Linked DNA regions of Homo sapiens: all the other regions are linked to region 1. Evidence: promoter capture Hi-C in 16 types of primary human blood cells and fetal thymus (Javierre and others, 2016). All regions are on one chromosome and are shown on one strand. The core of a region is centred on a gene start or on the middle of the fragment in contact, and the rest is flanking DNA. Distances in the headings are between cores, read along the strand shown.

Region 1 (3,539 bases), core at 535-3,034:
AGCACCCACATGCACACTCAGTCATGTTCAGACCCTCTTCACACATTCCTACTGGGTGATCGCCACTCTCACGAGGAGTGCCACTCCATCCAGCAGTGAAGAAACGCTGGCTACAGAAATGTACCATGTCACCCAGTATCTTCTCTCTCCCCTCTCCTTTCGATACCATCTTCAGCAATATGTTTCATCTACTCATGAGAAATATTTTAATCTTTCACCGAAAGAAGTACAGTATTTCTTAAGGAAAAAAGATTCCACTTAAGAAACCTTGCACTAGCCGGGCGCGGTGGCTCACGCCTGTAATTCCAGCACTTTGGGAGGCCGAGGCTGACGAATCACGAGGTCAGGAGATCGAGACCATCCTGGCTAACACGGCGAAACCTCGTCTCTACTAAAAATACAAAAAATTAGTCGAGCGTGGTGGCAGGCGCCTGTAGTCCTAGCTACTTGGGAGGCTGAGGCAGGAGAATGGCGTGAACCCAGGAGGTGGAGCTTGTAGTGAGCCAAGATTGTGTCACTGCCCTCCAGCCTGGGCGACAGAGCGAGACTCTGTCTCAGAAAAAAAAAAAAAAAAGAAACCTTGCACCAGACCTAAATTTTGTAAATAAATGTCCCTGAAAAAATGGTACTTTATAATCCTTAAAGCACAAGACCCCTTTTTACCCACCAGCCATCTGTCATGTGAAATAGACTGTAACCTTGCTGAAATTTGTGTATGTGTGTGTTGTTACTAATGGAGTGAAAATAAGGAAATAGTCATAATCTGAAATATCCTGAAATGAAAATGATGCAGAGGATGTGATAAAACATGACCCTCTGTCTTGTTTTTTTCTTTTGCTTAGGTTTCAACGTATTGCAAACACCTCGCTATCATCATTGTTCTTTTCAATTTCTTTAACCTGTTAACCCAATTCAAGTCACTCAAAATTTGAGGTTCCTGGGAGATTCAGTTTTGCATCACAATGCCTTCAAATACTAGATGACTTTGCATATTGACTTTTTTAAGTTGGAGAGATTCAATGTCTCTGACATGAAAAAGTTTAAATATATGGTATAGGTTGTCCTTATGCTGCCAAGGATATGGAAATACAGCTAATGATAACTAATGACAAAACAGGAAGTCACCATTACCAAAATCTCTATCCTCTGCTACACATTGAATAAGATTATAGTTATCTTAAAATATAACTGAATTGAGTTACTCAATATCTACTAGTGAAACAGTGTGCTCAGTTAATACATTCTTCTTGCCCCATATTAATAACACCAGATTTTCAGAAATCCACTTGAGCTTCCTCTGAAGCACATTCTATTTAAGCCCACCTAACAAAAAATATACAACACAGAATTCTTTTACTATCAAATTTTTTCCCTGTTGTTTTTTTTTAAAACCCAGCAGCCTGGTTTCTTTAAAATAAACTATCCCAGAGCATTACAAGTTCACTTAATCCCCTGAAATGCCATATAGGGATGATGGCATGGTGCCATCACCGAAGATAGTCTCCTGGAGGAGTTTGAAAATTAACATTGTCCAGCACCTCCCCACACTGTCTAAGCCTAGAATTTTGCTTGATTGAGAAGCCCCATTACCTCTCACTCGACGTTTGCTGTGCTTCCTGGCTTTTAATCTGGATGTGTGGCTGGTGGTCTGGTCCAGGAGTAAGGTGATCACCAGGATGCAAATTACAAGTCCATTCTTTGCCATGGCTCTGGGGCAAGCCTGCTGAGCCATGTTGCCAGCCCCCTTAGAGCAGCTATGGAAGGAGACTACACAGCTACATCTTGCTCTGGGATGCCTGGGGCTGGCTTATAAAAGTGAGCTTCGGAGGTTGGCTGGAATCCTGCTGACGGAATGTTTGAATGCCTCTGCTGGCCACAGCATAAGGTGGCCTCTTGTTCTTGTGCCTCATGTTAGGCTTTCTATTTATTTAATTTCTGCTGCATTTCCTAGTGATTTGCCTTTTTGGAGTGTGTCAAACTTAACTACAGGTTTAGCCTGCTTTCTTTTTTTAAATTTAAACTCTGAGAAGATTGGGGTCTTTGTGAAAAATTCTTTGATTTGGAACTCTGAAATTCACTAAATGTTCTGGAAAATGGATTCAATTTAGTTTTCAGGGCAAAAAAAAAATTGGAGAAAAAGGAAAGTTACTGCGTGTGTGTGTGTGTGTGGTGCCACAGCACCATTCAAGCCAGTGTGTCTACTCATACTCATGTGTCTGCGCAGCTCAAGTGTAGCTTGGAAGTAGTTTTCTCAGTGGGATTTATGGAGATTGCGGAAATAGATACTCGATGATAAAATATAGGGCTTTCCTCCATTAGGATTTTGTAGACTCATCAAGAATTACTTCCTTGGGGCTGCATGTGGTGGCTCACACCTGTAGTCCCAGTGGGAGGCCGAAGTGGGTGGATCCCTTGAGGTCAGGAGTTCGAGAAGAGCACGGGCAACATGGCGAAACACCATCTCTACAAAAAAATAAAAAAATTCATCAGGCATGGTGGCACACATTTGTAATGCCAGCTACCTGGGAGGTTGAGGTGTGAGAATCACCTGAGCCCCAGGAGTTCGAGATCACTGCCCTCCAGCCCGGGCAAATTACTTTCTTGGGAAAATGTACCTTACAGTGAAAAGAAAATTTTAAAAAGTGAATTATTTCCATTAGAATAAGAATTAATGTAATAGATCAATAGCTATTTTTTCAGGTCCTCACCAATCATTTTTCCTTGAACACATTAAACAACACTTTCAAGTGCATGATGTAATAGCACAGAAACCTAGTGAGAGACTCGCCGGGCGTGGTGGCTCACGCCTGTAATCCCGGCACTTTGGGACGCTGAGGTGTGTGGATCACTTGAGGTCAGGAGTTCGAGACCAGCCTGGCCAACATGAGGAAACCCTGTCTCTACTAAAAAACGCAAAAAGATTAGTTGGGCGTGGTGGCAGGAGTCTGTAGTCCCAGCTACTCTGGAGGCTGAGGCAGGAGAATCGCTTGAACTCACAAGGCAGAAGTTGCAGTGAGCCGGGATTTTGTCACAGCACTCCAGCCTGGGCGACGGAGCCAGACTCCTTCTCAAATAAAAAATAAAAATAAAATTAATGTAATGAGAAACTCAATTATTCCTACCTTTAACCATAGGCTTTAAGGGCAAGTTTTCGGGACCTGATAGGCTTTTGCATCAAAAGCAATGGACTTGCATTACAGGAATAGCCGAGAGGGAGGAATTTAGACCCAGGGAAAGGCCTTCCTGCATTCCACATGCTTATTTGGCTGACCAGGTGCAAATGGAGGGCAGTGGTTGCAGATTTGGAAGGTCTGAAGGACCAAGTTCATTTTGCCTTTGTTTTTTCTTTGAGACAATACAGAAAGAATCAAGGAATGAGTGCTTCCTTCTGAATCTTAATGAGAAAAACCACAGTCTATTTCATCTTCATTTCCTCCAAGTTAAAGCCATTTTGTAACCTACCAATATAGTAAGACCATAGTAAGACCACTGATGTAGGAAAGTCTGACATGATTCAGCAAAGTAACTGTACAATTAAA
Region 2 (3,539 bases), core at 437-2,936, 430 kb after region 1:
TGGAAGGAGCAATAGACAATGTGCAAATGAGTATGTCTGTGCTCCAGTAAAACTGTATTTACATAAAGAGGTGACACGTCAGATTTGACCCACATGCCATAGTGTGCAGACTCCTGCCCCAGAAACTGAATCAAAGGGCCCCTGGGATCCTACCTGGGCTCTACCACTTACCTTCTGGAGTTGTAGGTGGGTAGTTTCAGCTTCTTCCTCTGTTAAATGCGTTTCTTAAGAGCACATACCTGCTGGTTCTCATGAGTCTTAGTGAGATAATATAAGAAGGCCTCCAGATACAATCTCCTCTGTGTTGAGTACCTGGACAAGGGTTAGAGTACCTGTCCCATCTGTCTTCCCAGACAGCTTTGACCTCTGGAAAAATTTCTCCCTCCAGTCTGAAAAGGTATTTACCCCCCAAAATTTTGACTAATTCTCCTCTTCCAGGATGTAGCTCTTCTCATGCCCGTGTGTAAATCTTGTTAAGCCTAAAGGCCAATCCATCCCATAAATTTTTCCTGGTTGCAGGTCATATTTCACTCACTTCTGCACCCTTCCCCAACACTTTAACTGCACTTTTGGAATGGTACTCATCCCTTGTTTAATACCACTTCGTTTATTCATTCATCCATCCATCCATCAAACACACAGGTCATTGACTATGCATTCTCCATCCTGCTATCAGTGTGTGTCTTAACTAGCACTTTTATGAGACCACAGGCCTTTTGAGGTCAGGGATCCTGTTTTATTTCTCCTGGTACATCAGAGCCTAGCACTGGGATGAGCATAATCTATATGCTCGGTAAAGCTTTTTGTGATGAATGGGAGGGGGATGAATACTCTATCTCAACCTCCCTGTCCTCAGTGTTCTTGGCATAGAGACTTGCATACAGTAGGCATCAAAAACACACATGTTGATTGAGTGTTGCCTTCATACCATTTTACTCAGCCTGTAATGCTGTTTCTTTACTTGAGGGACTTGGTTGCCAAATATCTTGACCTTTTGCCTTTTCCCTGGTGAAAGGGCAGGACTTGTGAATGAGAGGGGGCTCTAAGCCCTGGAACGGCAAGAGTCTGAAAGCACGCGGGTTAGAGGGAGAGAGGTGAGCGTAGGGCATGGGTGGTGGGGAGGGGGTTGTGAGTTCCAGCTCGTCCTTAACACCCATCTGGGTGGCCTCTGAAACCAGACAGGGTAATTATCCCTCCGGCCCCTGTGCTCTAAATTATTTACATTTCCCAGGCAAGACACTGAAAGGGGAAGCATAGAAGGACCCTGCCTCCTCCTATTATCAGACTTGACTGTTCCATTTCCTCCCCGGCTGATCTAAGATGGTTTGTGGAATTCAGAAAGGGGCACCAGGTTCAGAGTCAGGAAGCCCAGGGTTTGAATCCCAGCCCGTGATTTTGAAAGGTTGCTTTATCCAGAGGGGTATCCATTTCCCCTTCTGTAGTATGGAGGTAATAAAAGTCCCCATCTCACAGGGGCTGATGTAAATGAAAACAAAGCCAAAAAAGCAACCAAATGCACATGTAAAATGCAACAACGTATGTATAGAGAATCAATGAACACCTGCCATTTTCCTTTCCTCTGCCTTGTTTTACAAATATTTGAATGCTTCCTTATCTTGCCTCTTGAGGAAATACTTTTGGAGACATTGGCTTTCTAGCAGAAGAACTAAAGATTGGATGAATCTCTCATTCTGGGTTTCATAACCTTGGTCACTGCTGATAATTGACATCGGATAATTCTTTGTTGGGCAGTGGGGAGGGCTCACCCAGTGCAGCGTAAGATGTTTAGCAGTGTTCTTCGCTGTGATCTGTAGATCACCATCAGTAGCACTCACCTCTTACTTGTGATAGCCAAAAATGTCTGCACATATTGCCAGATCCCCTGGGGTGGCGGGCCGGGGGGCACAGTTGTCTTCCACAGAGGATTACTATGGACAAATGACTAAAGAGCTCCTTGCAGGGTGTGGGAGGCAGATGAGCTGGTGATGGGAGTGGCTCCCAGAAGTGATTTCTTTCCTCCTTTGCAAGGGAAGTGCATCCCTTAGGATCCAAGTGCTGAAGGAGAACAGGCTGTACTGTGGTCCCAACGCCTGGAGAAGGCAGAGAAACAAGACTATCAGACTCGAGGTTTGTCATGGTTAACAGGCGCTTTGTGTCAGGGCCACCTGAGGGCACTTGCCAAATTAGGTAACCAGGACCCCAGACATGACAGCTGTGCAGACCCAGGGTCACTGGCCCCTATAGAGGTGTCTCCCTACATGGGAGGAAGACACCATTCCTAAAACTCAGACATCCAGGTCGGATGCTGGTTCAATCTCCTGGTTCAAGCAGTCCAGCCCCAGTAGCTGAAACTACAGGCACATGCCACTATGCCTGTCTAATTTTTTGTATGTTTTGTAGAAACGAGGTTTCACCATGTTCCTCAGGTTGGTCTCGAACTCCTGGACTCAAGCAATCTGCCAGCCTCAGCCTCCCAAAGTGTAGGGATTACAGGCATGAGCCCCACTGTTCCTGGCCAAAATGTTCACTTTTAAGCAGCCTCACAAGAGATTGTGATACCCACAGAAGCTTTAGGATCTCTGCCCTCATTGGGAAGGCTATAAGCTTTAGATCTGGAACTGAATTTCATGCCCCCTCAAACCCAAACACTTACTAGATGTGTGATCTTTAAAAAGTTTTACTGAGCTGCCTTCCTAAAACAGGTTCAACAATGTTTGCCACCCTGGATCATTACAGAGATAAAATACCATTTTCTGAGTAGCCATTAAGTGTCAAGTATGTGGAAAGTACTTTTCATAGGTGATTTCAATGTGCATTCTTATAAAATTCCAAAGGAAGAGAATAATTTTACTTTTCATCACAGGGCTCTGCTGTGTGAATATTAAGCCCATTCTATAGATTAAGAAACTGACGCTTGTTAAGTCCCTTGCTCAAGGGTGATACAGGCCTATAGCTCCCTCTTCCATGGCTCACCCCAGGTTTTTTCGCTCTGCATTGAGCCTTTTCACCTCTGATCTCTCCTCACCAGTAAATTGCCACACTTGATTTCTACCCCCAACCTGGGCACTTACTCAGTATTAATGTGTAGGATTCTTTCCTAGAGTAATGCCAAGGAAAATCCAATCAGATGTCAACAAGAGGATCTCATCTGAGAAACCGATGCCAGGTGGGAAATGAGTCAGGACAGCACAGTAGGTGGGAAATGAGTCAGCTAGAATCTTTTGCCTTCTCTAGAAACAAAGACACTTAGACTGATCCACAAGTGAAGGGATCTTGGCACGTGTTCTGCTCTGGGATGAGTGCAGGTCCCTTACAGTAACTCTCCTGATGATCCTCACTTCCACCCCAATTTACTTTTACCTAGCACCAGTCTGAGGCCTTTTGTCACCAACATAAATATCCTTTCAGCTTCCCCTTTCGATGCAGGAAATAACTGCTAGTAACGGCGAAAGCCAAGACTGGACCACGTCACACGAATTCCACTCCCGAACCTCTTTTTTTTTTGGGGCCAATTAGCTGAAAGGGTTCGGGGAGCTGAT
Region 3 (3,539 bases), core at 620-3,119, 410 kb after region 1:
CACAAGAATCTTTAAAAGTGGAAGCAGGAGAAGAGTCAGTGTCCAGGTGAGGTGATGTTAGAAGTTCTCCCCTAGCCATTGCTGGCCTCGGAGATGCCAGGAGGTCAAGAGCTAAGGAATGTGGGCAGCCTGTAAATCTAGAGTAGGTAAGGAAACAGATCCTCCCTTAGGGCCTCCAAAAAGAATTGCAGCCCTGCCAGTACCTTGATTTTTGTCCAGCGAGTCTGATGTTAGAACTCCAGAACTGCAATAAATTTGTGTTATTTTAAGCCACTATGTTTGTGGTGATTTGTTATGGCAGCCCTGAGAAACTAATACACAGCGTGGGTTCCAAGGGTAAGAACTCTGGAGTGTTCCTGTAGTGATGCCCAGGGGCTCTGTCTTATTGGGGGTTGGAGCAGCAGCAAATTCTAAGAGGTGATCATGCTTGGAAGTAGGTGGACAACAGCTTGAAGGTTTGATGTGGTTGCCTGTTTCAGAACAGGACCCAGAAGTTGTCAAAGGCCTGGTTGCGACCAGGCCCTAGAGCATGATTAGATCAGGCCTCCAGGAATGAGTCAGGCAGATTGGAAGGAGTCTGCAACAGTAGGTTCCAATGGAAACATAATCAGTCTATGCTAGTCAGTCTTCAGTGGATGTGATACACACTTTTTCTGTCCTCCAAAGTTCAGACTTAAAAAAAGAAACAACTGAAACGTTGCTCAAGAAACATTTATTGATTATTGATGATGGTTGTGGTTATTCATTTAATTTTTAAGAGAGTATTTTTTGACCATATTGTTTTAAATGGTACATGAGAATGTATCACAGAAAAAACACCCCCAGATCTGACACATTCATGGGAATAGTGAAACTTAACAGCAGTCCTAGTGTTTTGTTCGTTATGTATAATATTTTAGAAGAATCTTTTCAAATGGGAATTTTATTGGTCTGTTGGCTCAGGGAAAAGAAAAAGACAATTGAAATACACATTATTTCAAGATGATGGAAACAGAAAATAATTCTCCACAAGAAAACATCACCCAAAGGCAAGAAGCCAAAAGAACAATAGTGGTGGTTAATATACTAATATAATAAATCTAAGCCCAAATCCTTCCTCTTACATTTAAACAAAAAGGCAATAACAATTCTATTTTGTAAGAATATCCCTGGGAATTACACGTGAAAATATTTTCTCTAGGCAGTATTTGGATTTTCATGCTCTGTAATCTATTTGCGAAACAATTTAATATCTGGTAACATCTGCATGGTCATCATGATCTGTATTTCATACTCAGAACATGTGGCAGCATACAAAAGCACATTGCCACTGTTAAGCAGTTTCAAAATTTATTGACTATATTTATAACTTTATACTTTTCCCAAAGGAACAAAATCCAATAAAATAAAAATAAGAAATGGGGGCAAGGAAAGGAGGAGGAAATCCATATGCTAACTCTCTGGGTTAATATATTTACTGTGACTGAGCTTCCAATTTGGCTCTGAGCATCCTACCTCCCCTGACCCAAAAAAGAATTTAAAATTCACAAAGCTCCCAGTAGCAGAAAATTAGAATAAAAATACTTTTATCAGGGATTTTCCCCCATCACTACATATTTTTTCTTCTTATTTTTAATTGAGACAGAGTCTCGCTCTGTCACCCAGGCTGGAGTACAGTGGCAAGATCTTGGCTCACTGCAGCCTCCACTTCTTGGACTCAAGCCTCCCACCTCAGCCTGCTGAGTAACTGGGACTACAGATGCATGCCACCATGCCTGGCTAATTTTTGTATTTTTTTTCTAGAGACATGGTTTTGTCATGGTTCCCAGGCTGGTCTCGAACTCCCAGGCTGGTCTCTGAGCTCAAATGTCCACCCTCTTCAGCCTTCCAAAGTGCTGGGATTACAGGTGTGAGCCACCACATTCTTTTCTTGTATTTTAAGTCATTAAAAAAAAAGTTTCTCTATTGTAGCCACTTCCAAAATAGAGAACCCATGACTATGTCTTAAAGTTGTAGTTTTCAAACTCCAGTTTGCCTGGTAGTCTCCTAGAGGACCTATTAAAACAGATTTCTAGGTCCTATCCGTAGAGTGTCTGAATCATTGTAGCCTGGGAATTTGTATTTCTGGCACATTCCCTGGTGATACTGATGCTGCTGGTCTATGGACCATGATTTGAGAACCACTGCTCTAAAGGAAATTTATGAAGTGATATCACAGAGGAGATATTGAGTAATCTATGGGAAAATTCCTTTAAAAGACGTCCATAGCATATGCAGCAACTATTGCAATGTGAATGCTTCTTCAGAACATTATTAGCAAAAGTCAAGGGCACAGATCCGACTTGTGCTGACATGCTTAGTAATATGGGAAAATTTTGCAGTATAATTAGTCAGCATGATCCTACTATGTAGACTTCTGATATAATACCCTCTTTGTATGTGTGTGTATGTTTACTCAATGGTGGTATTATTTAATATTTTAACTGCTTTTTTGAGGTAAGACTGACATACAAGAAGCCTATACATGTTTAATGCTTCCTACTTTATTTCAAGGAAAGTATTTAGAATTCATAAGGGAATAGGTAATATTTGAATAACATATCACTAAATGTAGATTACTTTTAAAGAAATCTTGTTCTTTATAAATTGGGCTTTTAATTGAAACTGTGATTTAAGACCTCATGCTTCTCTTAATTCGAAAGAAATGTATGGGCCGGGTGGGGTGGTTCATGCCTGTAATCCCGTACCTTGGGAGGCCGAGGCAGGCGGATCACTTGAGGTCAGGAGTTTGAGACCAGCCCGGCCAACATGGTGAAATTCCATCTCTACTAAAAATACAAAAATTAGCCAGGTGTGGTAGTGGGCACCTGTAATCCCAGCTACTTGGGAGGCTGAGGCAGGAGAATTGCTTGAACCCGGGAGGCAGAGGTTGCAGTGAGCCAAGATCACACCACTGTACTCCAGCCTGAATGACAGAGTGAGACTCCATCTCAAAAAAAAAAAAAAAAAGTATGCGTTGACTGCTGAGTGTACACACATGAATGTAAGAATTTGCTTCCTCTACCTCCAAAAATCCCATTGAAATGCTATAGATGAAATGAAGGCTTACTTGTCTAAGAATGAGAGAGGGAACTTCCAGTGGGCCAGTGGAGGTCATGAATATCTGGAGGTGAAAATGAAGATGGAGTCATAGTGACTTCACTTTTTAAACATTTTTATTTTGAAATAATTACTGAGTCATAGGAAATTACCCAAAAAATATACACGGAGTCCATACGGGTTCCATGAAGGCAGTCGCCTTTCATCCAGCATTCTTCAACGGTCACATCTTGTATCACTCTACTACAATATCAAAGGCAAGAAATTGACGTTGGTACCATCACAGAACTTCAGCCATCAGTTTTACCTGATTTATGTGCACTTGGGTATGTGTGTGTAGACATTTGGTTTTATTACATGTACGTGTGTATTTGTATAACCACCACCACAGTCGAGACACAGGACTATTAATATTTCGTCACCATGAAGATCTCCCTTGTGCTACCCATTACAGTCACACA
Region 4 (3,539 bases), core at 607-3,106, 380 kb after region 1:
TCCTTCTGCTAAGAGTAACCAGAAAATGCTTACCTGCCTGCTTGATATCAACTAATAATTTAAGAAAAACACACATATGAAAGTTGCTTTTTATAATTTCAGAGTTTGGAAATTAAAGGGGGGGAAAAGTTGCCGAGAAAAATGTGTTAAGTTTACTGATCCTCAACTATCTGGAAAACAGTTTGAGATCCTCAGCCAAACATAAAAATCTCTGGCTAGGTTTTTATAACCCTGCTATCGACAGCTAATTTCTTGAGCAAATTTATTCACTGTTTTTTTTTTTTTTTTTAAATTGGTAGCGCGAGCCACCTCAGATGTGCATCCTGTTGAGAAATTCCTGAGTTCAACTTTCTTAAGCATTTCTGTTTCCTTCTTAGGTCTGAAAGAAAATTCTGGCAACATGACATAGTGTTTTTGTTTTTTTTGTTTTGTTTTGTTTTGTTTTGTTTTGTTTTGTTTTTTTTTGAGACAGAATTTTGCTCTTGTTGCCCAGGCTGGAGTGCAATGGTGTGATCTCGGCTCACTGCAACCTCTGCCTCCCATGTTCAAGCGATTCTCCTGCCTCAGCCTCCCTAGTAACTGGGATTATGGCACGCGCCACGTGCCCCCTCGCTCAGCTCATTTTGTATTTTTAGTAGAGGTAGGGTTTCACCATGTTGGCCAGGCTGGTCCTGAACTCCTGACCTCAAGTGATCCCACCTCGGCCTCCCAAAGTGCTGAGATTACAGGCAAGAGCCACCGCGCCAAGCCATGACATTTTTTGACTGTGACCTTTCACCAAAGGGCACACGGTGGAGAAGCCCTTCTTACCTTCTGAAGATAAGGCAAAACGTCTTGTCTCTAACACAGCCTTCTTTCTTTGTTTTTTTTTAGGGGTTAGAAGGAAGAAAAAGCTGAAACTCTGGATTTTGACAGTAGAATTCAGCTCTTTGTCTCAGGAGGAAATGTCTATGGCTGTTTAAAACTTGGAATCTTAAGCTAGAATCTGATTTCATTTATAAAAACCAAATCATTTATTTAGTGTCTGAACAGGGCCTTACATCTAGGTCACTGTTCTTAACTTGGATTGTAAGTAACTCTTTGTTTAGGTTTCCTCCCAAAGCAGGCCTTGAGACAAGGACTCGTGTGTGGTTAATTTATTAGGAAGTGGATCCAGAAAAAACAGGTGAGGAAGTAGAGTTAGGGGCAGGAAAAGGAGGAAAAGGAGGAAAGCCAATCAGTGAGGCACTCATGAGCAGACTTTCTGCAGTGGACAACCAGGACTCACTCCCACTGGAGACCCTCTGAGAATCTACGTAGGGCACAGCCACCATGAGGATGGGAAAACCAGTGCGTTTATGCACCAACTCTAATCGTTCCCCTTTCCCACAGCAAGTATCCAGGGAACCCGAGGAAATTCTGACAGTGACTGGAAATATAGGCATTGGAGGGGAAAGCTGCCAGCATGCTGGAGACAATCAGGGCCTGGGGAGCTTCCACGGGCCAAGGAGATGCACGAGGCGTTGGCAGACTGTGATTCAGTGCTTGTAGACAAATTATGTCCCCTCTAAACCCTCATTTCTCATCTTTAAAAGAAGGAATTGGAATTTCCAAACTGGGTCTCCTGAATGACAGATGCTCCTTACAAAAATTGTTTCTTGGTGAAATAACTGCATTCACAGCAACCTGGATAGAAGTGGAGACCATTATTCTAAGCAAAGTAACTCAGGAATGGAAAATAATACGTTGTATGTTCTCCCTCATAAGTGGGAGCTAAGCTATGAGGATGCAAAGGATTAAGAATGATATAATGGACTTTGGGGACTTAAGGAAAGGGCGGGAGGGGGATGAAGGATAAAAGACCACACATTCTGTACAGTGTATACTGCTCGGGTGATAGGTTCACCAGAATCTCAGAAATCACCCCTAAATAACAGTAATGTAACCAAATACCACCTGTTCCACAAAAACCCATTGAAATTTAAAAAAGGTTACTTGGTCAAATAGCTTTAGGAAGTATTAGATTTAACATTTTTTAAAACTGCAGGGCATCTTAGAGCCTCTAGCCAAGAGTGGGAGAGCAGGGATGGTGTATTTGACCATGGGATCCTCACTCTTGTTGTTTTTCCAGACAACACCTGTGAATGTCTTGAGGCTGTGGTGGTTTGTGGCATATGGTTTGGGACAAGCTACATTAGGTTACTCAACTCCAGCCCAGCTCTCTGGTTGACAGAGTCAATAATTGCAACTCTTTAACTTGGTTCAGAGGAGATGTGGAATGCATCAGACGGGTTCTAGGCTTTCAAATCCCATTTTCATCTCTTATCTGTTGGACTTGTGACTCCGCTTTCTTTTGATAAGAGCTTTCTGCAATGAGAAACAAAATTAAAAAACCAGTGTATCTAGGAGAAGGACCTGGGAAGCCACGTTGTGGGCTTGATAGAGATAACTGTAGGGTCAGAAGAAAGGGAGACTGGACTCTGGTCTCGGCTAGACTGAGGCATTCCCACCTGTGCTGTCAAAGGACTCTTTAGCAGCTTTCCTGTGGGTGTTTCCAATCCTTATCACACCTTAGAATTACCTGAGGTGCGTTTTTTTGTTTTTATTATTGAGACAGTTTCGCTCTGTCACCCAGGCTAGAGTGCAGTGGTGCTGTCTCAGCTCACTGCAAGCTCTGCTTCCCGTGTTCACGCTATTCTCCTTCCTCAGCCTCCTGAGTAACTGGGACTACAGGTGCCCGCCACCTGCGCCCGGCTAATTTTTTTGTATTTTTAGTAGAGACAGGGTTTCACCATGTTAGCCAGGATGGTCTCAATCTCCTGACCACCTGAGGAGCTTTTAAAATAAGACCTGTGCTTGAGACTTCCTCCCAAAAAGACAGTTTATTGTTTTTAGTGTTTCTGAATGTTGTCAGAGAATAGGACAGACCACAAATGACTTAAACTGTGATTTTATTTTTAAGGCTCCCAGGATGTGATATTTCCAAGGGAAGGGATAAGTTAGCTAGCATTGGTGGCTACTCTGTTAGAAAGTAGCTAGCATTGGTGGGAGACCCTGTGCATAGTCTCTTACTTAATACGTGCACTTGGTGAAAAAGGATATTTTGAAACTGATTTGCTCACAAAGACCCTGTATTAGATTCCTATTGATTGCAGCTGTAATAAATTGCCACAAATTTAGTGGCTTAAAACAAAATATATTTATTATTTTACAATTTTGGGGGTCAGAAGTCCAAAATGAGACTGACAGGGTGAAAATCAAGGTGTTGGCAGGGCTGCCTCCTCCTGGAGGCTCTAGGGGAGAATGTATTTATTTGCATTTTCGGTTTTTAGGGGCTGCCTGCATTCCTTAGCTGTGGCCCCTTCTTCCATCTTCAAAGCCAGCAGTGTCCAGCTGAGTTCTCATGCTGTCATCTCTCATTCTTTTCTGCCTGCCCCCTCCCCATTTAAGGGCTCTGGTGATAATACTGGATCCACCTGAAAAACCCAGGCTACAGTTCCATCTTAAGGTCAGCCGACTTGTAAGCCATCTGCGACGTTATTTCTCCTTTGCCATAAAAC
Region 5 (3,539 bases), core at 543-3,042, 340 kb after region 1:
GGGAGTGGAGTTCAAGGTAGTTGCACAGAGCCAGTAAGATAAGTCAGAAAGCTGTTGTAAATGTAAAGAGGAATGGGCCAGGGCATGGCTGGGAAATGTAGAAGGGTAGGGTAGGGTGACAATCTGAATATATAATTACTGGGTTACTTACTAAGAGACCTAGCAGTCGTTTCCCTTTCAACTTCTCCCCAACCATGGAGCAAGAACAAGGTTCGAAGCAGCTTAAAACCAGAAGGCTCTTTGGATTAAAGATAGTTGAAATTCCCAGCATTTTGGAGTTCCTAAAACAACTCAGGAAACTCATGCTCCTGCTAACATTCTGTTTTCTACAGCACCTTTGTCCCAGGGGTAATTACAGGGCATCTTTTTTTTTTCCTTCACACTATAGCTCCTTTTTCTTTCTTTCTTTTTTTTTTTTAAGAAAATCATTTGTCTTATTAAAAATGACCAGTATGAGAGGCCAGGTACGGTGGCTCACGTCTGTAATTCCAACACTTTGAAAGGCTGAGGTGGAAGGATTGCTTGAGCCCAGGAGTTTGAGACCAGCCTGGGCAACTTAGCAAGACCCTGTCTCTACAAAAAATTACCCACGCTCCTGCAAAATAAATAAATAAATAAATAAAGACCAGCCTGGGAATGTAAAATAGCGCAGCCACTTTGGAAAACAGTTTGGCAGTTTGTTAAAAAGTTACACATAAAACAAGTTCAGGCCTGGCACAAAGGCTCACATCTGTAATACCAACACTTTGGGAGGCTGAGGCATGAGTATTACTTGAGCTCAGGGGGTTGAGACAAGCCTGGGCAACATAGGGAAACCTTATCTCTTTAAACAAAACAAAACAAAACAAAAAAAGCTGGGTGAGGTGGCATGCACCTGTAGTCTCAGTTACTCTGGAGACTGAGGTGGGAGGATCGCTTGAGCCCTGGAAGGTGAGGCTGCAGTGAGTAGTGATCATGCTGCTGCACTCCAGCCTAGGCAACAAAGCGAGACACAGTCTCAAAAAAAATAAATAAATAAAATTCAAAGTATTAAAAATTAGACATAAATTTACTATATAATCCAGCAATTCTATTACAATGTATCTACACAAAGGAACGGAAAACACGTGTCCACATGAAGACTTGGACATGAATTATCATAGCAACATTATTTGTAATGGTTGAAAACTGGAAACAATCACAAATCCATTGAATGGTAAATGCTTAAACAAAATGAACTGCATCCATAAAAGGAATATTAATCAGGAATAAAAAAGGAACAAAGCCCTGTTACATGCTAGAATGTAGATGAATCTGAAAAACATATGCTGAGTGAAAGAAGCCAGATGCAAACACAGTTTCTATGGTGGCATTGACGTGAAATGTCGTGAAAAGCAGAACTTTAGCAACAGAGGATTAGGGGTTACTGGAGGTGGAAATGAGGCATATAACCTCAAACTGACACAAGGGACCTCCTTGGGCTAACGGAAATGTTCTAAAACTGGATTATGGCACTAGTTGCATAACTGAAAATTTACTGCAAAAATCATTGAATTGTACACTTAAAACAAATGAATTTTATGGTACTGTATATAAATTATATCTTTAAAAATATTTTTATAATGATCAATAGCCTTCTAAAATTTTCATTTAGGTTAGATGGCATATCTGAAATGTCATTTTAAACATTAACAACTATAGCAGTCATTTTGGCTCCACACTCTAAAAAACACAACTTTCAAAGCTGTTTTATTCTTTGGCTTAGGAAAGAAAAGAACACAAGACTTTAAGATGGCTCAGGGATTTAGTAAGTCATTGAAGCTGAAACTTTCCACCATGTTCATTGAAATTAAAAGATTATGATTTGCAGATGTTTTCCAGTGGGTCTGGACTGTTTGTCAGCATTTCAGATTCTGTAGAACTTTTTGGGCATGCAATGGAGCAATTAGTGCTGACAGCCCTTTTCTATAATTGTGCTATATCTAAGGCTAGCCCTGGAAATAAACGGTGTTGCTCAACTAACAGCTACGAATTAGCCAAGACAAGAGCATGTTACTTTCCTTTGGTTATGTATCAAATTAGCATTTCACAGGATCGCATGTCTTTTTTGAAGAGCCATGAAGCAGACATTATGGACGCATTTAAAGGAGTCTAATTTGCCTCGATTCTAGTTGTATGTATTAAGCCAACTTTTCTTGGATAAGGACTGAAAGGTATGTAGAGAAATTTAAGTCTAGGAGAGAGATTTATAAGATCAGCACAGATCATTCCCAAGAATCCAAGCAGGCATCGCATGACATTTCAGACTTAACCTTTCACCTCCTAGGAGAGCTGGGTCTTCTGCTCCAGGCTTCCACAGTGATTAAGAACAGTCACTAGTCTCAACCACGCCTATGTTTTGAGTTCTGATTCTACCACATGTTACAACCTTTTTTTGTTTGTTTGTTTGTTTTTTTGAGACCAAATCTCGCTTTGTCGTCCAGGCTGTAGTGCAGTGGTGTGATCTCGACTCACTGCAACCTCCGCCTCCCAGTTTTAAATGATTCTCCGGCCTCAGCCTCCTGAGTAGCTGGCATTACAGGTGTGTGCCACCACGCCCAGCTAATTTTTGTATTTTTAGTAGAGATGGGGTTTCACCATGTCGGCCAGGGGTGGTCTCGAACTCCTGGCCTCAAGTGATCCACCCACCTCCACCTCCCAAAGTATTGGGATTACAGGTGTGAGTCCCCGTGCCAGGCTTTTTTTTTTTTTTTTTTCCTGGGACAGGGTCTCACTCCTGTCTCCCAGGCTGGAGTGGCAGTGGCACAATCACAGCTCACCACAGCCTTGATGTCCTGGGCTCAGGTGATCGTCCCGCCTCAGCCTCCCAAGTAGCTGGGACTATAGGTGCATTGCTAATATTTTTTGTATTTTTAGTAGAGATGGGGTCTCTTTATCTTGCCCAGGCTGGCCTTGAACTCCTGGGTTCAGGCAATCCTTGCCCCTCGGCCTCCCAAAGTGCTGGAATCACAGGCATGAGCCACTGTGCCTGGTATCTCCTACTATCATTGCAACTTTTGGTGAATGATATGGTTTGGCTGTGTCCCCACCCAAATCTCATCTTGAACTGTAGTTCCCATAATCCCCACGTGTCGTGAGAGAGACCCAGTGGGAGGTAATTGAATCATAGGGGCACTTACCTCCATGCTGTTCTCATGATATTGAGTGAGTTCTCACAAGATCTGATGGTTTTATAAGTGGTTCTTCCCACCTTCTCACTCTGCACTTCTCCTTGCTGCTGCCACGTGAGGAAGGATGTGTTCGCATTCCCTTCCACCATGATTGTGGACTTCCTGAGGCCTCCCCAGCCATGCTGAACTGTGAGTCAATTAAGCCTCTTTCTTTATAAATTACCCCGTCTCGGGTATGTCTTTATTAGCAGTGTGAGAATAATCTAATACAGTGAGTACCTGACATTTTTTAATCCTCAGATTTTCTGTCAGAAAACATAAAAATTACGTCTGTTCCAGAGGGTTTTGTTTTGCTTCTGTTTGTTTGTTTTTGAGACAGAATTTCGTTCT
Region 6 (3,539 bases), core at 450-2,949, 320 kb after region 1:
ACTCCTATCCTTAACTGATTCTCCCACCTCAGCCTCCCAAAGTTCTGATATTATAGGCCAAACAAGTATTTAGAAGATGCTACGAAGGAAAACCACAGGTTTTCATGTTCTACTTGAATTTGCAATTCACCCCACTATGCACTGGCTACATGATCTTGGGCAAATTGTGTCACCACCAATCCATTTCCTTTTTTGTAAAATGGGGTGACGATACCTATGTCAAGGGACTCGAGAGGTGTGGTGAGAAATAATTGGAATCATCCATAAAATGGAGAACTCTCCATATTCATTCAACAAGTAATAGTGCAAACTACATATGGGACACTGGAGATAGAATGATCAAGCAGACCTGATCTCTTCCACCACATGACTTATGTTCTAATGACACAGACACATAAACTGATAATCAAGGAAATAAATATATAACTTTACATTTTAGTAGGGGTTGGGCATGGTAGCTCATGCCTGTAATCCCAGCACGAGGTGACCAAGGTGGGAGAATCACTTGAGCCCAAGAGTTTGGGGCCAGCCTGGGCAGCATAGTGAGACCCCCCGTCTCTCTCTCTCTCTTTTTTTTTTCTTCGAGTTGGAGTCTCACTCTGTCGTCCAGGCTGGAATGCAGTGGTGTGGATCTCGGCTCATGGCAACCTCTGCCTCCCGGGTTCAAGCAATTCTCTGCCTCAGCCTCCCGAGTAGCTGGGATTACAGGCACACGCCACCACACCCAGCTAATTTTTGCATTTTTAGTAGAGATGGGGTTTCACCATCTAGGCCAGGTTGGTCTTGAATCCTGACCTCATGATCCGCCCGCCTCAGCCTCCCAAAGTGCTGGGATTACAGGTGTGAGCCACAGCACCTGGCCGAGACCCCTCTCTTCACAAAAAAATACAAAAAAAATTATCCTGTAGTGCCAGCTACTCGGGAGGCTGAGGCAAAAGGCTCAGTGGAGTCGCAGAGTTCGAGGCTGTAGTAAGCTGTGACTGCGCCACTGCACTCAAGCGTGGGTGACAGAGCAAGACCCTGAGTCAAAAAAAAAAACAAAAAACAGTAAAGTGAAATAACTTTCAATAGGTATCAAGAAGGGGAGAAAATACAGAAACCTCTAAGAGTATAAAGGGAGGGGGCTAATTGAGAATGAGTAGATTCTAAGAAAGTAGAATTTAAATGGAGTTCTGTTAAATGAAGGAGAGAAGTACACATGAAGTCCCAAGGTGCAAAGGAGCTCAGAGCATTGGAGGACCCAAAGGGACAACAGGTGGCTGCAGGCAGCGGGGAGGCACTGGGGCATAGAGATGTGGGAAGGGCCAGATCATGCTGGGCCTTTTCAGTCATATTACAAAATTGGAGATTTAAGCCTCCATTGCAATCTAAGCATTACCAGCATTGTAAGCATCCCCTGAAGATTCTCTCCTTAAATTGCCTCCTAGTTGCCATGTTTTTGAAAACTGTTTATGTAACAGCTGTGGCAATGAAGCTTTGTTGTTCTGTGATTACTTGTCTTGCTAACATCTGTCGGTTCCTCCTAGAACTCTGTTTACCTAAGTTGGTGAGGCTGGTACCTAGACCAATGGGCTTTAATATGATAAATGGCCCACTAAAGTGAAAGGAGCAGGCATACAATGTTAATTTCCGTTCCATCCAGGAAAAAAGAAAAAGGTTACCAGCTGTGAAAAACCACCCGACTAGAAGCAGGTTTCTGATTGTCAGCCCGCTGAGAGATAATCTTGTCAGCATGACCTGCAGAAGTGGTAATAATTTGCAATTATGTACCAGCCTTTCTCTTAGGGCACACAAACAGTTTCTAAATATTTCCCTCAACTCAGTGAGGCAGAGATGCTGGGATGTTATCATTTTGCAATTAAAAAGTCATCTTAGAATAAATGCTTTAATAACCTTTCTCATGTTGCGCGTTTGGGAAGCTTCTCGAGATTTTTTCCAGGAGGGAAATGGCACCTAGTGATGTTACGTGAACACATAAGAGCTTGGTGCTTTCCTGCTTGTTTTTACTCTGGGTTATTGCTTAAATTCTGAAGCAGCGCCATTTTGCTTTCCTTTTGCGTTTAAGCTGTACCATCAGATGTATTAGAACAAAAGCCGTTTAACCCAGACATCCCCCAGAACCAGTAATACCTTGGCGAGCCCTTTATAAAGGCCAAAGGAAATAATGGCAATGAGCTCCTTCTTTAAGTTATTCCAACAACTTCCTACATTGTTGAAGAATGTATCTCACTAATGGATTGCTGAGAAAAACACTTCCTTTTCCCATTTCAGAAATCCTTCCAGAGCTGAGACCATGCTTTCCATCACCCACGAGAACCAAGTGTCTGTTACAAGAGGTTATGGTGATGGTCTCTGCTAAGAGCCCTGATAAATGTGGGCTCTAATCTTGGTTTTGGAAGCCACTAACCTTGCATGACTTTGGCAAAACCACTTAACCTGTGAAAACTTTTTTCCCTTTTATTTGAAATGGCTGCCTTCTTGTGATTGCCCAGAAGTTCTTCTTGCCCACTGCACAGATAAAACCAATTCACTGAGACAGAGGTATTGCAGCAGAAAAAGAGTTTAATTAATGCAGGGTTAGCCACATGGAAGATGGGAGTTTATTACTCAAATCAACCTCCCTGAAAATTCAGAGGCTAGGAATTTTCAAAGATAGTTGGGTGGGCAGAGGGCTAGGGAATGGGGAATGCTGAGTAAGTCCTCCATGCATCAACTTCACCTCTCTCAGAAGCATCACAAGACAATAAAAGGAAAAAAAAATACCCTTTTCTTGAAACAAAAAGTCAGACAATTTATTAGCATCAGGAGAGTAGAGAATGATCTTCAGACATCTAGTATAAGTAACTCAACTTCTGATGGGGAAATTGGGACATTGACAATGAAATGGCAACATGTCCAAGTTCAGAAAGTTTAATAGACAGAATTGGGATTGGGACTTAGATCTCCTGTTCCAAGCCTGGAGAGGGAAGTTTGAGCAAATGAGAGTACACTGTTGGGCTTTGAGCTGTTTAAACTTAAGCAGTGGAAGTCAAGGCAAACACAACTTTCACAAAATTGAACAAGAAAGAGAAATCTCATGCAATAATAAAAACTGTGCACTAGAAATATGGCTAGTATGAATTCAGGCATGCTTTAAATATAAAATGCATACCAAATTTTGAAGACAGAAATTGTTAATAATTAATTACATGTTAAAATAATACATGAGATGAAACTAAATATATTAAGATTTCTTCTGTTTTTCTTTATTTTTCTTCTACATGCGGCTACTAGAAAATTTAAAGTCACATATGTGGCCTGCAATTATATGGCATATTACATTTACATTTTTACTGAATAGTGTTGATGTAAGGGACTTAGTAAAATGCAGTTTCCAGAACCCCTCTCCAGAAGAAGTAAATAGCATCTTTGGTTTTGAAATTTGAGGACCTTAATTTTAGGATTCCCAGGTAATTCTGTTGCAAAGTAAGTGTTGAGACTAGAATGTGGCCCCAGTAAGCTGGAGATGGCTGCGGGCTGCCCCTTTAGTTCACCGCAGT

The links. Contacts are between HindIII fragments. The CHiCAGO score rates a contact against its expected background, and 5 or more counts as called.
Region 2: a contact is called between a fragment that was not itself captured here and the fragment with the promoter of CLEC3A in region 1, in 1 of 17 cell types (M0 macrophages). The highest score is 6.4, in M0 macrophages.
Region 3: a contact is called between a fragment that was not itself captured here and the fragment with the promoter of CLEC3A in region 1, in 1 of 17 cell types (M0 macrophages). The highest score is 8.1, in M0 macrophages.
Region 4: a fragment that was not itself captured here is called in contact with the fragment with the promoter of CLEC3A in region 1 in 2 of 17 cell types (M2 macrophages and M0 macrophages); the score reaches 5.7 in M2 macrophages.
Region 5: a contact is called between a fragment that was not itself captured here and the fragment with the promoter of CLEC3A in region 1, in 17 of 17 cell types (M0 macrophages, monocytes, M1 macrophages and 14 more). The highest score is 13.9, in M0 macrophages.
Region 6: a fragment that was not itself captured here is called in contact with the fragment with the promoter of CLEC3A in region 1 in 1 of 17 cell types (endothelial precursors); the score reaches 5.3 in endothelial precursors.

The regions. Positions count from the first base shown.
Region 1 is chr16:78,020,793-78,024,331 of GRCh38, reverse strand. CLEC3A (C-type lectin domain family 3 member A) reads right to left here and starts at 1,784. Exons shown (of 3, transcript NM_005752.6): 1 at 1,591-1,784. The coding sequence starts at 1,705. The HindIII fragment of the contact is 14,741 bases long and covers 1-3,539 here.
Region 2 is chr16:77,585,706-77,589,244 of GRCh38, reverse strand. No RefSeq gene overlaps it. Among named protein-coding and RNA genes, the nearest start is that of LINC02131, 3.4 kb to the left of the region's middle. The HindIII fragment of the contact is 1,769 bases long and covers 802-2,570 here.
Region 3 is chr16:77,610,319-77,613,857 of GRCh38, reverse strand. LINC02131 (long intergenic non-protein coding RNA 2131) reads right to left here. Exons shown (of 3, transcript NR_184319.1): 3 at 3,180-3,321. Among named protein-coding and RNA genes, the nearest start is that of LINC02131, 21 kb to the right of the region's middle. The HindIII fragment of the contact is 4,696 bases long and covers 1-3,539 here.
Region 4 is chr16:77,639,674-77,643,212 of GRCh38, reverse strand. No RefSeq gene overlaps it. Among named protein-coding and RNA genes, the nearest start is that of LINC02131, 51 kb to the right of the region's middle. The HindIII fragment of the contact is 6,955 bases long and covers 1-3,539 here.
Region 5 is chr16:77,677,956-77,681,494 of GRCh38, reverse strand. No RefSeq gene overlaps it. Among named protein-coding and RNA genes, the nearest start is that of NUDT7, 43 kb to the left of the region's middle. The HindIII fragment of the contact is 9,706 bases long and covers 1-3,539 here.
Region 6 is chr16:77,703,710-77,707,248 of GRCh38, reverse strand. No RefSeq gene overlaps it. Among named protein-coding and RNA genes, the nearest start is that of NUDT7, 17 kb to the left of the region's middle. The HindIII fragment of the contact is 445 bases long and covers 1,477-1,921 here.